Regions from separate parts of the Homo sapiens genome. Here region 2 is linked to region 1. The links are contacts of gene promoters, found by promoter capture Hi-C in human tissues and cell types (Jung and others, 2019). All regions are on one chromosome and are shown on one strand. Each heading gives the region's core, a stretch centred on a gene start or on the middle of the fragment in contact. The rest is flanking DNA. Distances are from core to core; before and after follow the strand shown.

Region 1 (5,657 bases), core at 1,255-3,754:
AGACAGGCCTGCCTTCCTCAGGGCCTCGCTTAAATCCACAGGAATCTGCTGGGGCTCTGCCCTCTGGCTGGGGCAGGTGGAACTGGCCAGATTGGCGGTGGGGGGACCACTGTGCTTGCCATAGGGACTGGCCCAGCTGCCCCACAGGGGAGCACATTGGAGTAACAGGGGAGGCTGACCCGAGCCTGGCCCGGCTCCACACTCCCCACCCCCACCCCACCATCAGGGACTCGCATTTAATTGTCATTCATTTCCCCTCTCTGAATTCAAACTAGGCACAGATCAAATGATTCCATGATGACAAACTGCCTGTCTCAACTGACCAGATTCCACTGGCAAACACTCCGCTGACCTTGGGCAGCTCCCTCTGCTCCCACCTCCTCTGGCCCTTGTGCTTCTGGGGCTTTGTGGAGTAGCTGGACATCAATGATAACACTAACAGTAGCCGGCCTGCCACCAAGTTCTTTACATAGGGGATGCCTATGTCTGTGCTTCATTGGCGTCATCTCACAAGGCCCTGAGCTGGCAGGAAATTGAGGTCTCAAGGGGAAAAGCCACCTGCCCCCAGTGACAACCAGGAAGTGCAAGACTCTGACCCAACGCCCATGCCTGCCATCCCCAAACATGGGCTCAAAACCCCCTTCCCAGGGACGGCTGTGTCCACCCCTCAGCAGGAGGAGGAGACCCCACAGCACCGGGTGAGAGGTCAGTGCTGAAGCCAGGGAGGCAGCTCTCAGCAGGGCACCTGTGTGGAGCCAGGGAAGCCAGGGCCACACTTGCAGGGTGAAGTGGGGAACTCGGAAGGCTGGGCAGTGGAGCAAAATGCTTGGTGCCCTGCGGGAACCGGTGGCCAAGGCTACACTGGGATGAAGGGAGCCGTGGAGCTGCAGAATCTGCGGGTGGCCCTCAGTGGCAGGCAGCCAGGCCAACAGGGGCTTTGGGCTGCAGGTCAGCCCCTCCCCTGCTCTGGAACTTTTGGAGGGCCATTACAAAGGACATCAGCCCCAAGATACTCCTCTGAAATTCTGCCTGAAAGGCCCTTCACATTCCCTAATTGGCACTTACAACATTCCAGAACATTCTATGGTACCTTAAGTTTCTCCTCCCCCTCCAAAGGGCCCTTGAACCTTAAGGATAGGGCAGAAGGGGCTCCTCACCCTGGCCTCGAGGGCTTAAGATCCAGCTGAGGACTCCTAGCCTCCCTGTGTGCTGGGCAGGAAAGTAGCTCCATGTCACTGCTGTCCCTGGGAAAGGAAAAAAGGTTGAGGAAGGGCTCAGAGCCAGCCTTCAGACCAGGCAGGAAGGGTTCAGAGCCAGCCTTCAGGCCATGCAGGCCTCCTGGATGTGCTTACTAACTCTGGGCTCGCTGTTCTCTGAGCTGGCTGGGAGTTCCCCTCTGCACCCCCGTTTCCTCCCCTGTAAGGTGGGAATAATAGCGTATGTCTCTAGGATTAAGTGAGCCAGTCATGCATGGGCCGAGAACCAGGTTTGGCATATTGTAGCTGCTCAGTGGACGTTAGCTGTTATGATTGGACCACAACGTGCTTCCGTTTCAATTCTGTGGGCCTTTTGGAGGTCCTGCTGGATGCTAAGCACCGAAACCTCAACCCGGAACAAGACCAGAACAACCTGAGCAACAACAGGACCAGCGATGGCTCTCCCTGCTGGAGGATTCTGGAAGTCACCTGGCTGGACCAAGCCCTCTCCGTGTTCTCTGTCAGCCCACTCCCCAGAGCCGCTAGGCCTGATGTGCACAAGCAGACTAATAAAGGCTTGAGGACAAAAAGGGTTTTGAGTGATAAGTGAAAAAAGAAAGGAGATAGGGCTGGGCCAACAGGCCTTCCCTTGGTGGTGGGGAGCCCTCAGAGGTGGGAGGAACCCCAGAGGTGAAGAGAGGGACATGGTGGGGGCACAAAAAAAGCTTCCAGAGCCACAGGCCTGGGCGAGTCCTGACATGGAGCCCAGTCTCATACGGCCTCTTTCCCTAGTGGCTGGCTTTGCTCCTGGCCCTAGGTAGCCCAACAGCTGGGCAAGGGGTCCGTCTGGTCAGGGGAAAGGTGCAGGGGCAGAAGGTAGCAGAGGGAGAAAAGGACACCCTGTCTGCCTCTGGCCCCAAAGACAAGTCCGAATGGGGCCAGAGGGAAATGGCTGGGCCTTGGGGTGCCCCAGGGTCTTGGAGGGGACCGGGTGTTCAGGTTTCGCACAAGTACAGGAGGGACCGGCGACCGCCCTCCCCCCGCCCCGGGAGGCTCCGCCAGGGACAGGCGTCCCCGGGATTGGAGGTGACCCCCGTGGGTTCCGAAGCCCCGCCTCGGCCATGCACTGTCTACTAGGCGCGCTTGGGGAGCCTAGGGGCCGTCTCGGAGAAATGGGGTGGTCCCCGCCAGGCGGCGGCGGGGCGGGCCCTGGGCGCCGAAGGGGTTAAGGCACCTGGGCCACCGCCCCTGCCGGCCCCTCCTCCCGCGGCCGGGAAGAGGAAAGTCGCGGCGGGGGCGCGGCCCGGTCTCCGTCCCCACCCGCCCGCCGTCCCGCCGGCCCGAGCCGTGGCGCCCAGAGCTGCGAGCCGCTCGCCCCTCCGCCGCTCCGGCCCGGGCCGCCATGTCGCTGTGGTGAGTGGGGCTGGGGGCCGTCGGGGGCCTGGGCGGGGGCGTGGGCCCGGGGCTCCCCCTCCTCCGTGGCCACAGACGGGCGCCGGGACTCCCGGGATAGGAGATGCCCCCGCGCGCGCCGCGCCGGCCTCAGTTTCCCGGGGGCGGATGGGCGGGCGGGCGCGGCGGCGGCGGCGGGAGATGTTCGCGGTACGCGGCCCCGGACCCGTGGGGGACGTCGAGGGGTCTCGGGGCGCCGCGCTCAGCTCCCCGGCCCCGCGGCCCTGGACACCGCTCCAGGACCCTGGCGGCTGGGACCCCAGGTCTTGCCGGCAGCTGGGTCCCCTCTCCCTTCCAGACCCCTGAGGGCCCCCTGCGTCCGGGCCACTCTCCTCCTCTCGGGGCTTCCTTCCGCGGGACCTCGGACCGCCGCCCGCCCGGCCCCTCTCCGCCCCTCCCGGGCTTTCCCTACGAATGGAGCGGACCCGGCAGGTGGAGCGCCCGCAGCCCAGGGCCTCGCCGCCTTCCCGGTGCACCCCCCGACCTCCCCCGTCCCGGCCTCGGTGGGCGGCTTCCCTGGAACCCCTAGGGCTGGCAGGGCCGGATCCGGAGCCCTCCGTTTCCTCCCCGGAGAGCTGGACCTTGGGTCACACCCCCCAGCCTGCACCTAAGGTGCCCCTGTCTTCCTCCAACCACATGCCCCAGCAACCTGGGGACCCTATGGGGAAAATGTCGCTCTATGGGGCTCAGCCTGCATTCACCCTGGGGCCTGGACCTGCAACCGGACCAGCCCTCAGGGCAACCCAGGCGTCTCCACGGGCTGCCTGTCTCTCCTGGCACCCTGCTCCTCCCCCTTGGAGGTCAGCGCCATCTCTCTGCTAGGCTGGCCCTGGAAGGCCACTCTGCTGTCCCCAGAGCTCTCAGCCCCCAGGTCTCCACTGGGGAGGGTGGGGCAGGTGTCCTGGCAGCCCCCGGAGGGTGAGATGAAGAGAGGAGGTCCTTCAGGACAGGGGCTCAGGCCCCAGGGCTTGGGACGACCAGCACTCCTGGCAGAGAGCTCTAATTTCTGCTTCCGAAATGGGTGTGGACCGGGGTTGGGGTGGGGGGGTCTCTGGGCAAGAAGGGTCCCTCAAGGGCTGGAGCTGCAAATGTGCCCCCTCCCAGGGAGTAGAGCTGTAGCCTCATGTCTTCTAATGGGGTGTTATGAGCTGGGGATGTTAAGGTAGGGGTGAGGGGCAGTGCCATGCTAGAGGTGCTCACTGCATCCTTGGGCCTCCATCAACCATGAGGGCTGCTCTTTGTTGGGTGAGACAGACTGGAGAAGGGGGAGGAGGGCCAGTCTTCCTCAGGTCCCAAGCTCGAGCCACTCTCCAATGTGCCCCACATGTGATGGAGCTCCCGGGCGGCACAGAGGATCAGAGGGTGCCCTCTCAATGACTCTGGCTCTGAGTCACCTAATGATACCGATACCTACTGCTGTGGGTAGGTACACCGCAGGGAAATGAAAGGCATTGGGGTTCCAGGCGTGGGGAACAGGGCAGAGGTTTCCACCTGAGGCCCTCCTGTTAAGGTGACAGCATTCCCCTAACTGTGCACCCGCTGCCTGGTACTTTATATAGCACTCCAATCCTGTGTTTTAGCCCCATTTGGGGGAAGAAGAAATCGTGGCTCAGAGTGGTTGTAAACCACTCATTCAGCTTGTAAGCGTCAGGGCCTGATTCCACAGTGCTCCTTGAGGAGAGGGCAGGGTGGGAGAAAGAAAGGGCAGGGTGGGAGAGGAAGCGGGACCCTACCCTGACAGCTTAGGGACTCCGGGACTGAGCCTGTGCCCAGGTCCACTTGCCCGTCTGGGACCACCCAGCCTCCCAAGGGGGGCGCCAGGAGAGCCCTGGGCTCATCTTTTCTCTCTCCTCTGTACTGTCCGCTCTCCCCCACAGGAAGAAAACCGTCTACCGGAGTCTGTGCCTGGCCCTGGCCCTGCTCGTGGCCGTGACGGTGTTCCAACGCAGTCTCACCCCTGGTCAGTTTCTGCAGGAGCCTCCGCCACCCACCCTGGAGCCACAGAAGGCCCAGAAGCCAAATGGACAGCTGGTGAACCCCAACAACTTCTGGAAGAACCCGAAAGATGTGGCTGCGCCCACGCCCATGGCCTCTCAGGGGCCCCAGGCCTGGGACGTGACCACCACTAACTGCTCAGCCAATATCAACTTGACCCACCAGCCCTGGTTCCAGGTCCTGGAGCCGCAGTTCCGGCAGTTTCTCTTCTACCGCCACTGCCGCTACTTCCCCATGCTGCTGAACCACCCGGAGAAGTGCAGGGGCGATGTCTACCTGCTGGTGGTTGTCAAGTCGGTCATCACGCAGCACGACCGCCGCGAGGCCATCCGCCAGACCTGGGGCCGCGAGCGGCAGTCCGCGGGTGGGGGCCGAGGCGCCGTGCGCACCCTCTTCCTGCTGGGCACGGCCTCCAAGCAGGAGGAGCGCACGCACTACCAGCAGCTGCTGGCCTACGAAGACCGCCTCTACGGCGACATCCTGCAGTGGGGCTTTCTCGACACCTTCTTCAACCTGACCCTCAAGGAGATCCACTTCCTCAAGTGGCTGGACATCTACTGCCCCCACGTCCCCTTCATTTTCAAAGGCGACGATGACGTCTTCGTCAACCCCACCAACCTGCTAGAATTTCTGGCTGACCGGCAGCCACAGGAAAACCTGTTCGTGGGCGATGTCCTGCAGCACGCTCGGCCCATTCGCAGGAAAGACAACAAATACTACATCCCGGGGGCCCTGTACGGCAAGGCCAGCTATCCGCCGTATGCAGGCGGCGGTGGCTTCCTCATGGCCGGCAGCCTGGCCCGGCGCCTGCACCATGCCTGCGACACCCTGGAGCTCTACCCGATCGACGACGTCTTTCTGGGCATGTGCCTGGAGGTGCTGGGCGTGCAGCCCACGGCCCACGAGGGCTTCAAGACTTTCGGCATCTCCCGGAACCGCAACAGCCGCATGAACAAGGAGCCGTGCTTTTTCCGCGCCATGCTCGTGGTGCACAAGCTGCTGCCCCCTGAGCTG
Region 2 (5,657 bases), core at 1,181-3,680, 300 kb before region 1:
TGGATAACTTTGAGGGGTTCAAGGCTTTAGTGGAAGAAGGAATTGCAGAATTGGTGAAAATAACAAGAGAACTAGAACTAGAAATGGAGTCTGAAGATGTGACTGATAAAACATCAATGGCTGAGGAGTTGTTTCTTGGGATGAGCAAAGAAAGTAGTTTCTTCATTTGGAATCTACTCCTGAAGATGCTGTCGACATTGTTGAAATGTTAGGTGTAGGAAAAAATAAAAAAGAAGTAATCACTTTTTGGGTCTGACCTGCAGACCCTGGCCGAGTGATAGATGAAAGAAGTTCTCAGACATGGATATCCAGTGAAGGAGTGGGCTAGGGGGCTGCTGGCACTAGGGCCGAAGAGAGTTAGCCGCCTCTATAAGCCAGAGATGCTCGTGTTTATTTAGTACAGATTTAATGAGAAAGGCTTGGAGCAAACACAATTTGTGGGTAATTAACATTGTCGACCCACCAAATAGAGAGCAGTCCTGCACACGAATGATCACAGATTAGTTTCTGGAGACAAGAGTAAACAAGTTTATCTAGATAAGTTCCTTTACATTCCCTTGTTATGTAACCCTTGCTCTTAAGAGAATTTAACTGCCTTCAGCTAAATCCTCTTGAAGCTTTTGCAAAACCTCCCGGCCTTCCAATAAGGTTTGCATCTTTCCCTATAATTTTTATAACTTTTCCCACCACCCTGACTGATCTCCTACATCTCCTCCTTCCTTTTCTGCTTTTTACATCAGGTTTTGTTAATTGAAGAGTACAGATGTGTGCAGCAGCAGATTTGTTAGGCATAGTGGTTATAACTCGTTTTCCAGCTTTGCATCCTAGAATTAGTAAATAGCATAAGACAAACATGAGTATAATCAGTAACATTCTTTTCCAACAAGAATTGACCCCCAGGAGTGGGGGTCTATCCAGGAGAGATGTTATCTCACATCCTTCCATATGGCTGTTTGTTGGGCGTGTAGATCTACGGTGTTTAGGGATTCTAGAATTTTAGTTTTAAGTTGTCTTAAGTCTGCTGTTAAATTATCATATAAGGTTCCCCAGGGGTGTTGTTTCACCTCATCCCAACTATGTATTGGTTGATTCCAAGGTAGGGAGGTGACACAGATACACTTATGCTCCCAGTCACAGTTTAAGTGCTGTCGGAATGCCAGCGCATCTTGCTGCTCCCCTGTATATTCTAAGGCAGCCTCAGGGGCTTGCAGGCGTGCAAGAATCTTTTGATCTGTACCCTGCTCTAAGAGAAGTTCATTAGACACATTTTTGGCCAAGTTACCTACAAAGGTAGCTGTTTTTACAGATTCAGTAATAGAGGCCACAGCAATACTAGCAGTTGCTAAGATGACTATGGCTGAGACTATAAAGGTTTTATAAGTGTGCCTATGAATCTTTTGGGTCTGACCTGGGACGGGGCATGTTCTCAGGTGGCAAGAGCAGAGGAACCTTGCCAATCACGTGTCAAATTGGTGGGAATGCTTCAGATTGTCTCCTTAATACCATGATACTAGTAATATTTAAATTAGATATAATTAGTGACGCATGAGGCAAACCAAACCTGTCCCTGCACTCGGGTCACAAACGTGGAGTTTTGGGGTGTAATGGAAATATTGGTTCCCATAAGGAAAACATATGGATGGGTAGTGCAAATCAGGCACTGATCTGTGTGATTATGAATAAAGGTCACAGTATAGTTGTTACTGGAATTATGGTATGTCCCATACCAGGTGTAAAGGGAGATGCTAAGATGTCCCAGGCACCATAAAGTGTCTTGGGGTGGCATGGACTCTCCTTGGGATCTGGGATATCCCGTCCCTCCATCGGCCCAAATTGTACGGGAATGAGACGTGGCTGCAAAACTGTGATTGATGCCACGATGGATGAGGACATCAGTATGGTTGCTCTGCAAGTGTCAGTGGGGGCTCTAGTCTAAGATGTTATAATAGCCTAAATGGAGTCTACGGGCTTGTCCTCCATGACAGACCTCCCAGCCAAAGTGGAATCCATTACTTTCCTGGCTATGTTCTTTAGCACAGGAAGGAATGTTGGGGAAAGTGGCGTTGGTTGCATTGCCCGGTTTGAGGCTATCTGCAACCAAGAATGTTAAGGCATTTCCTTTGCCATGATATAGCCATACTTGAGTTTGGGCAGGTACACAGTAAGGATTGGAACTTTTATAACTAATGCACAGTGGGAGGATAGTGGAGTGATATATAGTGTTACCTGGCATCTTAATCCAATGTGTGCCATTAATGAGGGACCCCACTGGGGGTAAGTCAATCCCTCCTAGCCAAGCAGTTATGTTATTAGAGGTTGGGAAGGGGGTGTCTGCCCAAGTAACAGGGCAAAAGAAAAGCAGATCTAAGCCAAGCAATTATGTTATTAGAGGTTGGGAAGCGGGTGTCTGCTCAAGTAACAGGGCAAAAGAAAAGCAGATCTAAGAGATGAGCCCAATAGAGAGTAGCAGGTGCAGGTTGCAGGCAGAGTGAGAGATTAAGAAGGGTTAATACCCTATGAGAGTTGCAGTGTACAACAGAAGGCATAGCAAGGAACAAATTATGTGGAGTGAATGGTGTCTGTGTCTGGAGCAGGATTCGCTCAGCCTCCTGAGTTGTCTTCTTCAGCATCCCCCAGGTAAAGTCCGGGGCTTGTGTCATCCTAGGAAGCCGCGTCGTCCGGGGCTGCTGGTCCTGCAGGGACATTTCCTTCATTTCTGGTACCAGGTTGGGTCCTAGCCACACCATGGTATGATTTGATGTATCGTGCTAGAATCCAGAGAGGACCTGAGGGGGTGTGAACACAAGCATATCCTCTTTCCCATGTAAGCAAATCATTTGGACCACACCATACATTACTATTTACATTTTTCCATTAAACTGCAGGTTTTATGTCTTGAGAGGTTTTAGCAAAGTGCTTTTCTATGGCTGAAATTTATCATCTAAATTTTAAAAATTAAGGGTAAATAAGGCTTGTGCCAGTAGTGTTGCCAGGTTCTTACCCATATTCCCCCTTTTTTGTTTTTTTGAGCATATTTTTAAGAGTGGAATGGGTATGTTCTACTGTCCTTGGGGGTTATACGAGATGCCTGTGGAATGTTGGATGTTCCACGTGTGACAAAATTGTTGAAATTGTGAGCTGGCATAAGCCAGACCATTATCAGTTTTAATTTTTGTGGGCCGCCCTATAAATGCAAAAGTTAAGAGTAGATGTTTAATAATATATTGGGTGGACTCTCCAGGAAAAGTATGTGCACTAATTAACTGAGAATTGGCATCAATGGATACATGTACATATCTTTGTTTTCTAAATTTAGGATGTGAGTAACATCTGTTTGCCATAACTGATTAGGTTCTAGTCCTCTAGGGTTAACACCTGTTGGAGGGGCGGTGCCGTCCTCTAGGGTTAACACGTGTTGAAGGAGGGGAGGTGCCTGTGAGCTGGCAATCTGGGCATTGCAGGATAATTTCTTTAGCTAGCCTTTGGGTGAGTTTAAATTGTTTAGTTAAATTACTCCAATTTTGGTGGAAAAATTGATGCAATTGGGTGGCTTGGTCAAGCAGTGACGTCATAACTTGCATATCTGCTTGTTCATTGCCATAAGCCAATGGGCCAGGCAGTGAGCTGTGGGCTCCAATATGTGTGATTAGAAATAGGATGTGTACGTTGATCCAGCAATTGCTGAAGTCAAAGAAAAAGTGCACACAGGGTGGGCTCGAGAATGGACTTGAGGGCTGTTTCAAGGTTCTGCAATAAATAAACAGAGTAAGCAGGGTCACTAACAATATTGATGGGCTGAGCAGAAAAAGTTTCCAGTGCCAGTATTAAGGCTCCAGCCTTAGCTGTCTGAGTGCTAGTAAATCCAGAATGAGTAAGGGAATTATGTGGTTTCTACCAAATTGCCACTTTTCCATTTTTACCAGAACCGTCAGTAAAAAGCATTAAAGCGTTGGGTATGGGGGAGTGAACTACTTTTATAGGCACAACTACAGAAGTATGAGATAAGAACTGAATTAAGTTTGTCAGCAGGAAGGGCATGCTCTATATGGCCTGTATAATCAGAAAGTGCTATTTGCAGGTCTAGAGATAAGGGCAATACTGCTTTGAATTGCTTTTTACTTGAAGGAATTCTATGACATCAGGGTCATAACCTAGTGACTGATTGCATTGTCTGCAGCTTGTATAGTTGACTTTATTAACTAGCTGGATATAGGGAGATAGTGTTTTAGTCCAGGTATGTGAGCAAAAAATCCATTCCAGGAAGCGTAGCCCTGGGGCCATTTGTCCTATTAACCCTGTCGGGAGTGTTTAGTAGGAAAAACAAACAATTGAACTGAATAATTTGGGTCTATGCGATTTAGTTGCCTCTGAGAAATAGCTTGCTCTATTTCCTCAATTCCCCTTTTTGCTGCAGGAGTTAAATACCTGGGAGAGTCTGGGGCTGTATTGCCCTTTAGGATGGAAAACAGGTTTTGCAGCTTATCAGTAGTCATGCCCAAGGTGGGACGAAGCCAATTAATATTGCCCAATAATTTTTGATAATCATTTAAGGTGTATAAGTTGCTAGTATTTAATTTAACCTTTTGAAGTCTTATTGACCAGGAAATTAGCATGTATCCAAGATATTTCCAAGGAGAGGACATTTGCACATTTTTAGGTGCTATGTTTAAACCTCTTAGCTGTGTATTCTTTATGACAGAGGCATATAAACTTAAATGCCTTTGTTGGGGCTGCTAGTAAATATCATCCATAAAATGAATAATCTTGCAAGTAGGAACTTCTTTTCTACTGGGGAGCAAAGCTTGATTGACATGATACTGACACATGGTAGGACTATTTAGCATCCCTTGAGGAAACACTTTCCAATGAAATCAGCTAGCTGACCTTTCATTATTGATAGCTGGTATGGTAAATGCAAATTTTTCTCTGTCCTGTTCTGCAAGGGGAATAGTATAAAAGCGGTCTTTTAAGTCAATAACGGCTAAAGGCCAATCTTGAGGAATCGCTGCGGGGGAAGGGAGGCCCTGTTGAGGCCCCATGGGTTGCAAATTAGCATTAATAGCCTGTAAGTCATGCAGAAGTCTCCATTTGCCAGACCTTTTGGGAATGACGAAAATGGGTGAATTCCGAGGGCTGTTTGACAATTCTATATGGCCAGCTTTTAATTGCTCCTCAACTAATTCATGGGCTCTTTGTAATTTCTTTCCCTTTAAAGGCCACTGTTCTACCCAAGTTGGATCTTGAGAGAGCCATGTTAAGGGTAGGGGAGGAATAATAACAGTGGCCATTATTAGAAAGAGGTCTGCAGAGTGACCTCAAACCTCTTGTAAATGGGCTAGCGGCTCCGTTCTTTCTAATGCTTTTTCTTATCTCTTTATAAGCTTTAAAATAAATGGGTTCATGTACCTGATTGCCTTGTTGATCTTGCATTACCAGGCAGGCTAAGAGCTCCCCTTCTAATGCTGCTTGCCTAAGACAGAATCCCATAGCTGTAGGATATCCCTTGTCTTTTTTCCAATTTATTGGAGGAGGGGACTCAGGCAAAACCTCCATTTCCTTTTTGTTATTTTTTTCTGTTAATGGCGGGGCTGAGGGAGATGGAGTCGGTAAGGTAGGTGATGGTTCCTCTTCCCTACCCTTTTTAGGCACTTCTGTGT

What was found. Contacts are between HindIII fragments. The study calls those that stand out against the background at their distance.
Region 2: a fragment that was not itself captured here is called in contact with the fragment with the promoter of B3GNT7 in region 1 in 2 of the 25 tissues and cell types used here (H1 embryonic stem cells and lymphoblastoid cells).

What each region holds. Positions count from the first base shown.
Region 1 is chr2:231,393,206-231,398,862 of GRCh38, forward strand. B3GNT7 (UDP-GlcNAc:betaGal beta-1,3-N-acetylglucosaminyltransferase 7) reads left to right here and starts at 2,505. Exons shown (of 2, transcript NM_145236.3): 1 at 2,505-2,609; 2 at 4,526-5,657. The coding sequence starts at 2,599. RefSeq lists enhancers at 127-709, 710-1,291, 1,587-1,636, 3,905-5,104, 4,047-4,116 and 1 more and a silencer at 2,187-2,656. The HindIII fragment of the contact is 23,756 bases long and covers 1-5,657 here.
Region 2 is chr2:231,090,754-231,096,410 of GRCh38, forward strand. The region is part of intron 16 of PSMD1 (proteasome 26S subunit, non-ATPase 1); the gene reads left to right. Among named protein-coding and RNA genes, the nearest start is that of HTR2B, 31 kb to the right of the region's middle. The HindIII fragment of the contact is 5,322 bases long and covers 1-5,091 here.